Regions from separate parts of the Homo sapiens genome. Here all the other regions are linked to region 1. The links are contacts of gene promoters, found by promoter capture Hi-C in blood cells and fetal thymus (Javierre and others, 2016). All regions are on one chromosome and are shown on one strand. The core of a region is centred on a gene start or on the middle of the fragment in contact, and the rest is flanking DNA. Distances in the headings are between cores, read along the strand shown.

Region 1 (3,565 bases), core at 412-2,911:
GTTGTTCTGTTTCCAGGTGGAAACAGAATTACTTAGCAAGCAGAATTCAATGGTGTGGAGTATTGGATCAATCTCCCTAAACACATATTCAGGTAACCGACCTTCATTTTTTGTCCCCTTCTTCTTTCCAAATACCATATTCCACTGATCCTAGAGGCACATCTCACATCTCTGAAATCAGCCTGTTCACTGGTGTCCAGCAAGAGGAAGTGTAAAAAAGTTTCAAAAAAAATCACATGGAGAGACCATCACAGACAACTTCCGGTACACAATATTATATTAACAGTTTAAAAATATGCATATAAATGCATTTCTATCTATATATAACTTCTATCTATGATTATCTATCTATATATAATTCCTTTTTTTTTTGTTTTGTTTTTTTTTTTTTAGTAGAGACAGGGTTTCACTGTGTTAGCCAGGATGGTCTCGATCTCCTGACCTGGTGATTCGCCCGCCTCGGCCTCCCAAAGTGCTGGGATTACAGGCGTGAGCCACCGTGCCCGGCCTATCTATATATAATTCTATGTATTCTATCTATATAGCGATATATAATTTCTATCTGTAATGCAAATCTACATGTGATTTCTATCTATATATACATGTAGATAGAAAATTTAGGGAATTCACTGCAGGTGCTGCTTGCAGTCCACTTTTAAAACCTAACATTACATAATAAAACACTATTTTAAGAAGCTGCACTAGGCCGGGCTTGGTGGCTCACGCCTGTAATCCCAGCACTTTGGGAGGCCAAGTCGGGTGGATCACAAGGTCAGGAGTTTGAGACCAGCCTGGCCAACATGGTGAAACTCCGTCTTTACTAAAAATACAAAAATTAGTCTGGGGTGGTGGCGTGCGCCTGTAGTCCTATTCAGGAGGCTGAGGCAGGAGGATCGCTTGAACCCGGGAGGTGGAGGTTGCAGTGAGCCAAGATCGTGTCAATGCACTCCAGCCTAGGAGACAGAGCGAGACTCCGTTTCAAAAAAAAAAAAAAAAAAAAAAAAAAAAAAAAAGGAGCTGCACGATGCTCCCCTTGGGCGTGTACCATACCTTATTTAACCATTCCCAAACTGTTTCCATTTTTTCTGATGTTAAATAAACTCTAAGATGTACAGACGTCTTTTATCTGGCTCTCCGATTACCTTCTGCAGATAAACTCCTAGAAGTTACTGGGGCAAAGGGAGTGAACCTTTAATTTTTAATAAAATTTTTTAAATTACAGAAAAAGCCGTAGTCGTCAGATTCTACTTCCTAGGCGGTCCACAGGGATTTCAACAAGTTCGATTCAAACCATCCCAAATTCCCTCCCGGCACTAAGTTTTCCTCGGTCTTGGGAAACGTGGCCCCGCAGTCCGCACTCACGACTGCGCACAAACGCTGGCCTCTTTCCAATGGCGAAACTTCTCGACACGCCCCCGAGGCACCACCTCTTTAAAATTTAAAACGAAGGCCCAGGCCAATGAATGCTAAGCTTCTCTCGGACCACAGAGACCCGCCCACCGTCACTCCCTCCACCAATCAGACTGAAGTTTTCTCCACTGCCCCTCCAATCACCGCCAAAAATGGAAGTTGCTCTCGTAACTTACGTAAGGCAAGCAGCCAATAGGAGCAAACCTTGGAAACTAGCTCCCCCAATAGCAGCAGTTCCTGGAGAGCGCGGGAGCCTTTCGACCAGGGTCCCAAAGGAAAGCAGTGAGTGGTGCTGTTTCCCTGAAGGAAGGGACTAAGGGACGGTGGCGCGGGCCCGGACCGGGGCCCCGGGGCGGCGGCACGGCCGATATGGCATGCTGTCACAAAGTAATGCTGCTGCTGGACACCGCGGGCGGCGCCGCCCGCCACAGCCGGGTCCGGCGGGCCGCCCTGCGCCTCCTCACCTATCTGAGTTGCCGATTCGGCCTGGCCAGGGTCCACTGGGCCTTCAAGTTCTTTGACTCGCAGGGGGCGCGGAGCCGGCCGTCCCGCGTGTCTGACTTCCGCGAGCTGGGGTCCCGCTCGTGGGAGGACTTTGAGGAGGAGCTGGAGGCCAGGCTCGAGGATCGCGCCCACCTGCCCGGCCCGGCGCCCAGGGCCACCCACACGCACGGCGCCCTGATGGAGACGCTGCTAGACTACCAGTGGGACCGGCCCGAGATCACGTCGCCCACGAAGCCGATCCTGCGGAGCAGCGGGAGGAGACTGCTGGACGTGGAGAGCGAGGCCAAGGAGGCCGAGGCCGCGCTCGGGGGCTTGGTGAACGCCGTCTTCCTCCTGGCCCCCTGTCCGCACTCGCAGAGGGAGCTGCTGCAGTTCGTGTCTGGGTGCGAGGCCCAGGCCCAGCGCCTGCCGCCCACCCCTAAGCAGGTGATGGAGAAGTTGTTGCCCAAGAGAGTCCGGGAAGTCATGGTCGCCCGAAAAATCACCTTCTACTGGGTGGATACCACCGAATGGTCTAAGGTAAGGAAGGTTACTGTCGTCTCAGATGGCGTGCACGGTGCTTTCCTTGCTAACCAGAACTTGGCAGCGTCCTTAGAACAGCCACAGACCCCGAATGAGACTAATATGACTATGCGTCCCTTCGGAAGGAAACAAATAAATAGGAACAGTTTTCACAACAAAATGGGTAGTTCCTCACTACCTACTGTTTAAGACCCCTCACAATTTGGGCCCTACCTGCCTTCCCAGACTTGATTTTCCTACACACTACATCTACTCTAGCATATTGAAGTCCAGTCCAGAAAATCAACAGGTCTGGACTGCTTGTTTTGTGTTATGTGTGTTGTTCAATCTGCCTGGAATGCCAGTTCTCACTCTTCCAGGCCAGTCTTAACTTCACTTACCCTTTAAGGCTTCTTCTCCCAGTGACAACTGCTCAGTCCAGCGTCTGAATTGCCATACACATTTTGTGTGGCACTTAACCATTTCTCCATATGTTTTGATTATGCACATCTCTCACCCTCCATCTAGTCTAAAAATACCTCAGAGGCAAGCAGCAGGTTTTAACACAATACCCAGGGGTGTGTGTGTATGTGTGTGTGTATATATATATATATATATATATATATATATATATATATACACACACACACATATATATACACATTTATTTATATACATATATATATTTATTTATTATTATTTTTTGAGACAGTGTATGTCGCCCAGGCTGGAATGCAGTGGCTCACTGCAACCTCCACCCCTCCGGGTTCAAGCGATTCTCATGCCTCAGCCTCCCAAGTAGCTGAGACTACAGGCCCACGCCACCATGCCTGGCTAATTTTTTTGTATTTTCAGTGGAGACCAGGTTCCATGCTGCCCAGGCTGGTCTCAAACTCTGGCCTCAGGCAATCCGCCTGCCTTGGCCTCCCGAAGTGCCAGGATTATAGGTGTGAGCCACCACGCCCAGCCACCCAGATGTGTATTAAACGTTGTAGGTGTTCAGTCAGTATTGGCTGACTAAATGAGTACATTCTTGCGTACATTCTTGCAAACTTAAAGTCTTAAATGGCTAATTTGGATTTTTGCTGAGGCGGTGAGGCCCCCTGCTCCTGTTAAGTGCTAGGATAAGTATATACTTTTGCCTTCATCC
Region 2 (3,565 bases), core at 518-3,017, 3.8 Mb before region 1:
ATGGTGGTTAACCTTCACCATACCCCTGAAAAAAGCTAACAAAGCTCAATGAGGTTAAGGAACTTGATCACAGACCCACAGCATTTGAACCCCAGTCTGGTGCCAAAGCCCATGCTCTTTCCACTGCTCCTGGGTTAAAAGGACTTAACAGGGAGCCCTTCCTATCCCCAAACCCCTTCGCTTCCCCACCTAATCCCACAGCACCCCTTCCCCAGTTTCTAACAGCCCCAGAAGGACCTGGAGGCAGTATGGGATGATTATGCCTTGAAGATGACAGGTGTCAGCTTTTGACAGCTTTAGGTTGGTATGGCAATGAGGTGGTCAAGGAAAGGGGTTGGAACCTACTGTAGGGGCTGGGCTGACTTCCATCAGCTGGGGATAGCTGCTGATTGATAAGTCCTGTTGGGATGCTGTGACTGAAAGCTGTGGATGCTTAAGTTCTCCCTCCTCCCTCCTCCCCTGCACCTCCCTCCTCTACCCCCAGCTTGTTCCAACTAAGTGTTTCCTGGTGAGGAAAATGCTTCAACAGCCTTGGCTGGCTGAGGCAATTAAATTATGAAATTTACCACATTAGATGAAAACCAGCATCTCAATCAACCAATTCATTTGTGTCTGGCCACTCTGTTTTCTTGTGCCAGCTCTGCCCACACTGGCCAGGCTATGCCTACACTGCCTGGTGGTACAGAGGGACTAGGGGCTCAGACAATGGGCTGGTCTTTGGGACCAGGGGGTAGGTTCTCCCAGGACCCCCAGAGAAGAGAGGCTGCATCCAGAAGCCATCCAGCTTCCTACAAATGCGCTGGACTGCTGACTGTGCGGCCAGACACTACGGACGAGAGCAAACCTTCTACCACCTCCCACTTGCATTCTCCATGGCCTCAACCTGTGCCTATCTTGAGGCTGGCAATGAATTGGGCCTCTGGGAGAAGTGTGGGTGAGCGACAGGACAAAGGTGGCTGCCCTACACCTCGAATCTGGGCGATGACATGCCTTTCTCATCTTAGTCAAGGCATCCTCTCCCCAGGAAGCCTTGCCCACCTGTGTCTCCTTCTCTCCTCTTGCTGCCTCTATCACTACGATGTGTCAGGGCCCCTAATCCATGTGCCAGCACTCCCTCATCTAGGTGCTCACTAAAGGAAGAGTCTCCAGCACCTAACTCAGGGCCTGGCACACAGCAGGTGCCCAATCAAGTCTGTTCAAACAATGAATCAATCAATCAATCAGTCACAAACCACCCACTAAATAACACTCTCACTCATCCTACCCTTCCCCCCGCCCCCGCCCAAGTGATAGACGGGACGAACCAAGCTTGCTTTCACTGGGTAATTGTTCTCTTTTCTTCCTGCTCTCTTCTGCCCACACGGGGTGCCCGCAGATTTAAAACGCTATTAAGGGGCATCGGGCTGCAGAACCTGCTTCCGATGTGGAGCATGCAATTTGCCTATAGCTCTTCTCTCCGCACCACATACATAAATCCAACTGCAGCCCAAGACCCCAGGATGAAGGTGTCTTCCATTTCTACCTCCCTTTTATCAACCACCCTGGAGTCACTGCCTGACAAATGACTCAAAACTGAAATAGCTGCCAGGCCGGAAAAAGACTGACTACGTCAACCTTCACAGGCACAGCTTGTGGACCCAAGAGCCTCCGGTCTTGGGACACCAAATGGACCCTGAGGTGGGGTAGACTTTGTGTCCTACTCTTCCCCAGACCCCCACGCAAGCCTTCACCAACATGCCAGGAATCCTCACAGCTCAGATCAGCACACTGAGCATCAGTTCCTCCTATGAATGGGGAGACTGGGACCCAGGGTCCCAGAGGGCTTGGCCCCATAACGGTCACTGGAATCTGGTCCAGGATACAGACCGTGGAATCCTGCCTCCTCTCCTGGTGCTACTGCTAACTTCCTTCCCTTCCTCTCTCTATTGGGCCGATAGAGTGGAACCAAATGGTCCAGACACCTGGCATTCTCTGCCCTGACTACCGAGGAGAGTCAAAGTCCAGCCCGCCTTCCCCAAGGTCAAATTCACCGGGATCCAGCAGGACCCAAGAGCGTCCAGATTAAATCTGCAGGGGCCTGGGTCCGCCCCCTCACCCACAGTTCGTTGGGTCAGGCCTCTAGAGAGATGTTTCTTTGTTCAAAGACAATGGGAATGCACTTTGGGGGCTTAGAGCAGCAACACAAAAAAAGTATCTGGTATCTCCCGGGCACAATCCCCCAAGAGAAAAGCTTCTAAAGCAACTACGAAAGAGACAGGGGGAGTGGGGGCGTAACATCGCGCGGTGTGTCTCGGAGCCAGGGCAAGTGTGGTAATTAGAGTCAGGCTAGAGGGCTTGCTCTGGACCTGCCAGTCTGGCCGCCACCCAGGTGGACAGGTGGGTGTGCCTTTGAGTGCGACCTTTCTCTGCCGCTGGACAGTTCTGCAAACCGAAACGAGGGACCCTGGCAGGCGGAACGTGAACGGCTCGGGGCTCCGCGGCCAGGCCCGCGCAAACCCTCCCCTTGTGAACCCCGGGCCCTCGCTCTGCGCCAGGCAGGCAGCCATCCGGCCTGGGCGTCCAAGGCGCGGGGCATCGCCGCTCGCGTCCTCAAAGACAAGCAGTCTCTCTTTCCAGGATCAATAGTAATTTTTTAAAAAAAAGAGTCTGCGGACTCAATGAATCAACCACTCCCTGGGGAAAGAGTAGCGGCTCCCGCGCGCAACATCCATTTGCCAAACAATTCATTCCCTCGCGCAGAGCTCTCGGCGAATTCCCTCGCGGAGCCGCGGGGTGCCGGCCGGCCGCCGCTCCCCACCATTGTCCCAGGGCCCCGGCCCCAGCCGCGGGGCCCCCTCCCGGGACACGTAGTCCCGCGGGGGCTCCGAGCGCTTGGTCCCGGCCCGGCCCGGGGTGGTGAGTCCCCAGCGCAGGGAGCGGGGGCGCGGGTGCTGCGGCCAGAGCACGGCGTCCCCGCCCGGCCTGGATACTCACTGCCGGAGACGATCCCCGCCGCCGCCGCCGCCTCAGAGACCACTCCCGGCAGCCCGCGCGAGCTCAACAGGCTCCGCCGCGGCTCCCGTCGGCCGGCTCTCCACAGGCAAAAACGCTCTCGCTGCGATACAGCCTAGGCGCCGCCAACAAACTAGTTTCTCCGGCCTTCCCGCCCCGCCTCCCGGCCCGAAGAGCAGCAGCCAATCAGAGGCATCGCCTCTGTGACGGATGGGCAGCCGAACCCTTCAGTGCAGCCGCAGAAAAGAAGGGGGTGGGCCCCAGGCCGCGCCGGCACCGGGGGGTGGGGGGCCGGGGGCGGGGAGGGGGGGGGACCGGGGGCGGGGCGGGGCGAGGAAAAGGACTTCGACCAGATTCTTAAAGAGACAGGCGCCTGCCCAACCCCGCCGCCCAAGTTTGGGAACAAAACGCGACGGTGTTCTAGAGCTTTCCAGAGGGAGCACTGTAGATTGCATATGCCTCTTTTGTGTTCGGGTCACAAGTGTTGTAGATCTCTTTAGACTCTTCAGAGCCACACTAGTAGTTGCCCGAGTGTTAATGAAACCCTGTCTTTCACTCTGGGCTTGTTTGAATG
Region 3 (3,565 bases), core at 512-3,011, 3.3 Mb after region 1:
GGTAGATTAATATTACTTCTACTGAGCTGAACTGTCCCTGTAATTAGTACTTGGTTCCTTCTGCCATCAGAGTTTTTATTGCCCAAAGTATAGTGTTTAGGGAATACTACGAAAATCACCTTTGCAGCCTGAGCCACAGAAGAGGAAATGAGTTTGCAGGTCAAGTAAACTTTGGTCTGAGAATTACTTTAGTATCTGGAAAGAATGAGTGCAAGTTTAGGTAAATCTGGTAATACCCTGTTTTTGGAAATAGTGCAGTAGTTAATAGTGGTTATATAAGTTTGTATTTTAATTTGAAGTTAATGCTAAAGTCTGTTATACTTTATCACGATTTTTGAAAATTAAAAACTTTAAAAAACGCGATTTTAAAAACATTTGATTGATATTTGTAAAATTTCTAAGTATTTAAAACAAAGTTCTAATGATGGACATACGAGAAGTATACCATACTTTTTATCTGAATAATTTGCAGCTTGGGGATAACTTAAGTAACATCAAAGAATGAAAACGGGACTGTGTGCACACAAAGAGTTCAGTGTGTTCTCCACGGCACCACGTTAGCAATTTATCTTAAGAATTGAACGAGTTTATTAAATTTATCTCCAAATCGTCTGCCTTTGAGCCAGATTTATTTTTATAACCTGAGGTGCGGGTAAATCCTACAATTTTCAGGGGCGCTTTACCAGATATTCTAAAAGGCTGGGGATGATTAGAAATGGCATAATGCAGTTACTTGTGTACTAGAACAGGCAGTTTAACTGGCAGCCATTTTATGACGCTGATAATACATTAAAAAACGGGATTTTGGAGAAGACTGAATCTAAACTAATAGAAATCTGAAATACCAAAGCCTATTTCCTTCCCCCTCTCTGCTCTTCTGGGGAACTCTGGTGCCGACATAAAAGGCAGTTCGATAGGGCACGCAGCAGCTCTTTGAGCCCCTGGCATCTTGATGCAGGTCCAGCTCAGTCACAAAATGGCTGTTCCTTTGTGCCGCAGCGCTGACAGACATACTGCATTGCACTGTGTACTCGCCAAACAGCAGGAAGTTGCCGTGCCGAGTTCAAAGGCCGGCCGGCGCCGGCGCGGGGTGCTGATTGGCTGTGCGCGCGCCTGGTAACAGCAGGGTCAACGGCGGCGCCTTCGGCAGCCTCCGCCCCGTGACGTCAGACGGCTCCCCTGGGGGGCGGGGAGAGAACGCAGTGACGTCTGGCCGCGTGCGCATGTCGGGCGCTTTCTCCTCCCCCTACCCAGGGAGCCGCACGCCGAGGGGAAAAGGAAGGGAACTCTAGTTGGGACTTTCCGGTGGGCGGCTTCTTTCCTGGACGCGTTTGCTCCTGGCAGTCTTGTCCGCCCTTGCCTGTAGCGGTCCGCACCCTGTAGTGTGTTCTTTTGCCCATTTCCGGGAATGGTTTATCCTCTTTGAGAAGCGGCTGCTTTTGGAGAAAAAGTGCAGGCACTATTTATAAATTTTAAAGGCACTATTTGGAAATCTTAAAATAGAAAATTTGCCCAGTTTTACATTTTCCCTTTTCATACCTTAGCGTCCCTTCTCCCCGCCCCCGTTCAGTGTGAAGAGATGAGTGGGTTTAATTTTGTTACAATTGACCAAAACGTTTGAGTGTCAGAGGCGGATACTTTTATTTTAGTGAAAACCTCTTGACGGGTGTTAACAGCTGTTTAATACATGGCTCATAAACAAAGGGAAGATTATTTGAACTTGTCCCCATGCGTTTTTACTTGGTACCGTACATTTTCTCAGTTGGCATTTGATGGAGAAAAACTCAGGTCAGTATGTGCTAAGTACTATATATTTAAGATTCACAGTGGGATAGTTTAGTAGAAAATAGAAAATTTCACGTTCAATAACATTAAAAAGTGGCAGAATACAGCGTTAGGCAACCATTACTATGTAAGTAAATGTCAGAAAACTACTCTTTTAAGTGTTAATAGCACTTGCTAATGCAGGGTGACTGACAGCTTGGCTGATAGTGGGGTCACTTGGCCAAATCTTCGCAATTATCTTCCCTAGGCCTCCATTTCGGGAATTCTGAGTCCCGGTAAACGGTTGGGTTTATGCTCACTGATTTGCCTTGTTTGGAAACCTTTACAAGGATTTCTGGTTAAAACTTCATCGTTCAGCAACGATGTCTTAATAATTAAATTACACATACTGAATTTAAGCAAGCAAGAAATTCAGTGGATTTATCTACTGTGGACAAAGTTTTTTTCCTGCCATACTAGAGTTTTTTTAGCAGTTGGAGTAGGCTGTCCTGTAGTTAGCCATAGTTTAGAGTTATTTTAGTAAAGTGTGTTACTTCAAAGGAGATGTTGACCCTTCAGTGCAGGTGATATTTGCTTGGGCGTATGTCAAGTTTCTGAATACAGTCTGTGAAAGTTAGAATTCACTATGATAGTGAGTTTTGTAGGTTCTCATAATCTAGGTTCTTTGGGAAGAATTATTTGGATAGTTTGTGAAAACTAGCTGAAATTGCTTTTTCTGTTACAGAGAAGTGTTCATCAAATAATTTGTACCTGATTTTAAAATTATATGCTCAAATGTATATTGCGTATAAAATGCTAACAGAGAATTAAGTGTTTATAGAACTTGATGAACGTTTAACTGTAGCTTCCAACTTAAAGTATACCTGCCACAAGAACGAAAGTAATAATCTCACCTCCCTTTTTGTGTAGAGACTGAATTCTAATTAGTTGTGTTAATAGTATTTGCTGAATACCTTTCAATTCCTAAAACTGGGGTCAAAGTAGTCAACATTGCAGTTAATTATTTTTGAAGAGGATATGAACTATTCTGTTATTTAAGATATTTTAACCTAAATACCATTATGAGTTAAAATGCATACCATGATATAACAATTTACCTATTAACTGTTGACAATCTTGCAGCCAATTAAGTTTTTTATAGAACCAGTGTTCTTAGGTATGTTTGTTGAGCCTTCTACTTTTTTTCCCTTTGATGTGGGGAATAGCATCAAGCAGCAAGAAAAGAGTGTTGATCGATTTCTCTCTCTTTCTCTCTCTCTCTCTGTATCCTTGCCGTTTAAAATATGCACTTTCCAACTAGTATTTGGCCGTTAGGGAGTTAGTATCTTTGTAAAGATTAAGTCAGCAGAGGAAGGTGGGCAAATAATATTTTTGATAAAGACTTTTGGTTGTGACAGTTGTAGCAAGTTATTGCTTGAGGAGTGAATCTGGAAGTTTATTTGAATTTTAACTAAAACTCACAGATTTTATCATTAGTTTACTCTCCCTTACCCCCAAATAAAACAACTGACAGTTATGAGAGACCTCCTGAGACCACCTGGTATTTCCAAACTCCTATCATTTCTCCCATAAAATTTGATACACTAAGTTTGTTTCTGGTATAAAAATTGAGTGACTGCTCTGTGTCAGCCATTAAATTTTTTCTTGCTATGAGCCATCTTTTTTTTTTTTTTTTTTTTAAGATCCTTTAGTTTTTAGCTGCTTCTTGGTAACCTTAGAACTTTGCTTCCTTGAAGAACTTGGCTTTCTTGATATGGTGTCACTTGAACAAAGAAACTTA

The links. Contacts are between HindIII fragments. The CHiCAGO score rates a contact against its expected background, and 5 or more counts as called.
Region 2: a contact is called between a fragment that was not itself captured here and the fragment with the promoter of TICRR in region 1, in 1 of 17 cell types (fetal thymus). The highest score is 5.3, in fetal thymus.
Region 3: a contact is called between a fragment that was not itself captured here and the fragment with the promoter of TICRR in region 1, in 1 of 17 cell types (fetal thymus). The highest score is 7.1, in fetal thymus.

The regions. Positions count from the first base shown.
Region 1 is chr15:89,573,808-89,577,372 of GRCh38, forward strand. TICRR (TOPBP1 interacting checkpoint and replication regulator) reads left to right here and starts at 1,662. Exons shown (of 22, transcript NM_152259.4): 1 at 1,662-2,433. The coding sequence starts at 1,780. RefSeq lists a silencer at 1,650-1,939 and an enhancer at 2,061-2,589. The HindIII fragment of the contact is 7,754 bases long and covers 1,470-3,565 here.
Region 2 is chr15:85,791,793-85,795,357 of GRCh38, forward strand. KLHL25 (kelch like family member 25) reads right to left here and starts at 3,133. Exons shown (of 3, transcript NM_022480.4): 1 at 2,974-3,133. RefSeq lists silencers at 2,804-3,103, 3,254-3,323. The HindIII fragment of the contact is 922 bases long and covers 1,307-2,228 here.
Region 3 is chr15:92,903,221-92,906,785 of GRCh38, forward strand. The region is part of intron 2 of CHD2 (chromodomain helicase DNA binding protein 2); the gene reads left to right. It overlaps MIR3175 (microRNA 3175), which reads left to right and starts at 1,179; the gene lies at 1,179-1,255. RefSeq lists enhancers at 712-1,911, 773-952, 1,233-1,472 and a silencer at 1,023-1,072. The HindIII fragment of the contact is 5,562 bases long and covers 1-3,565 here.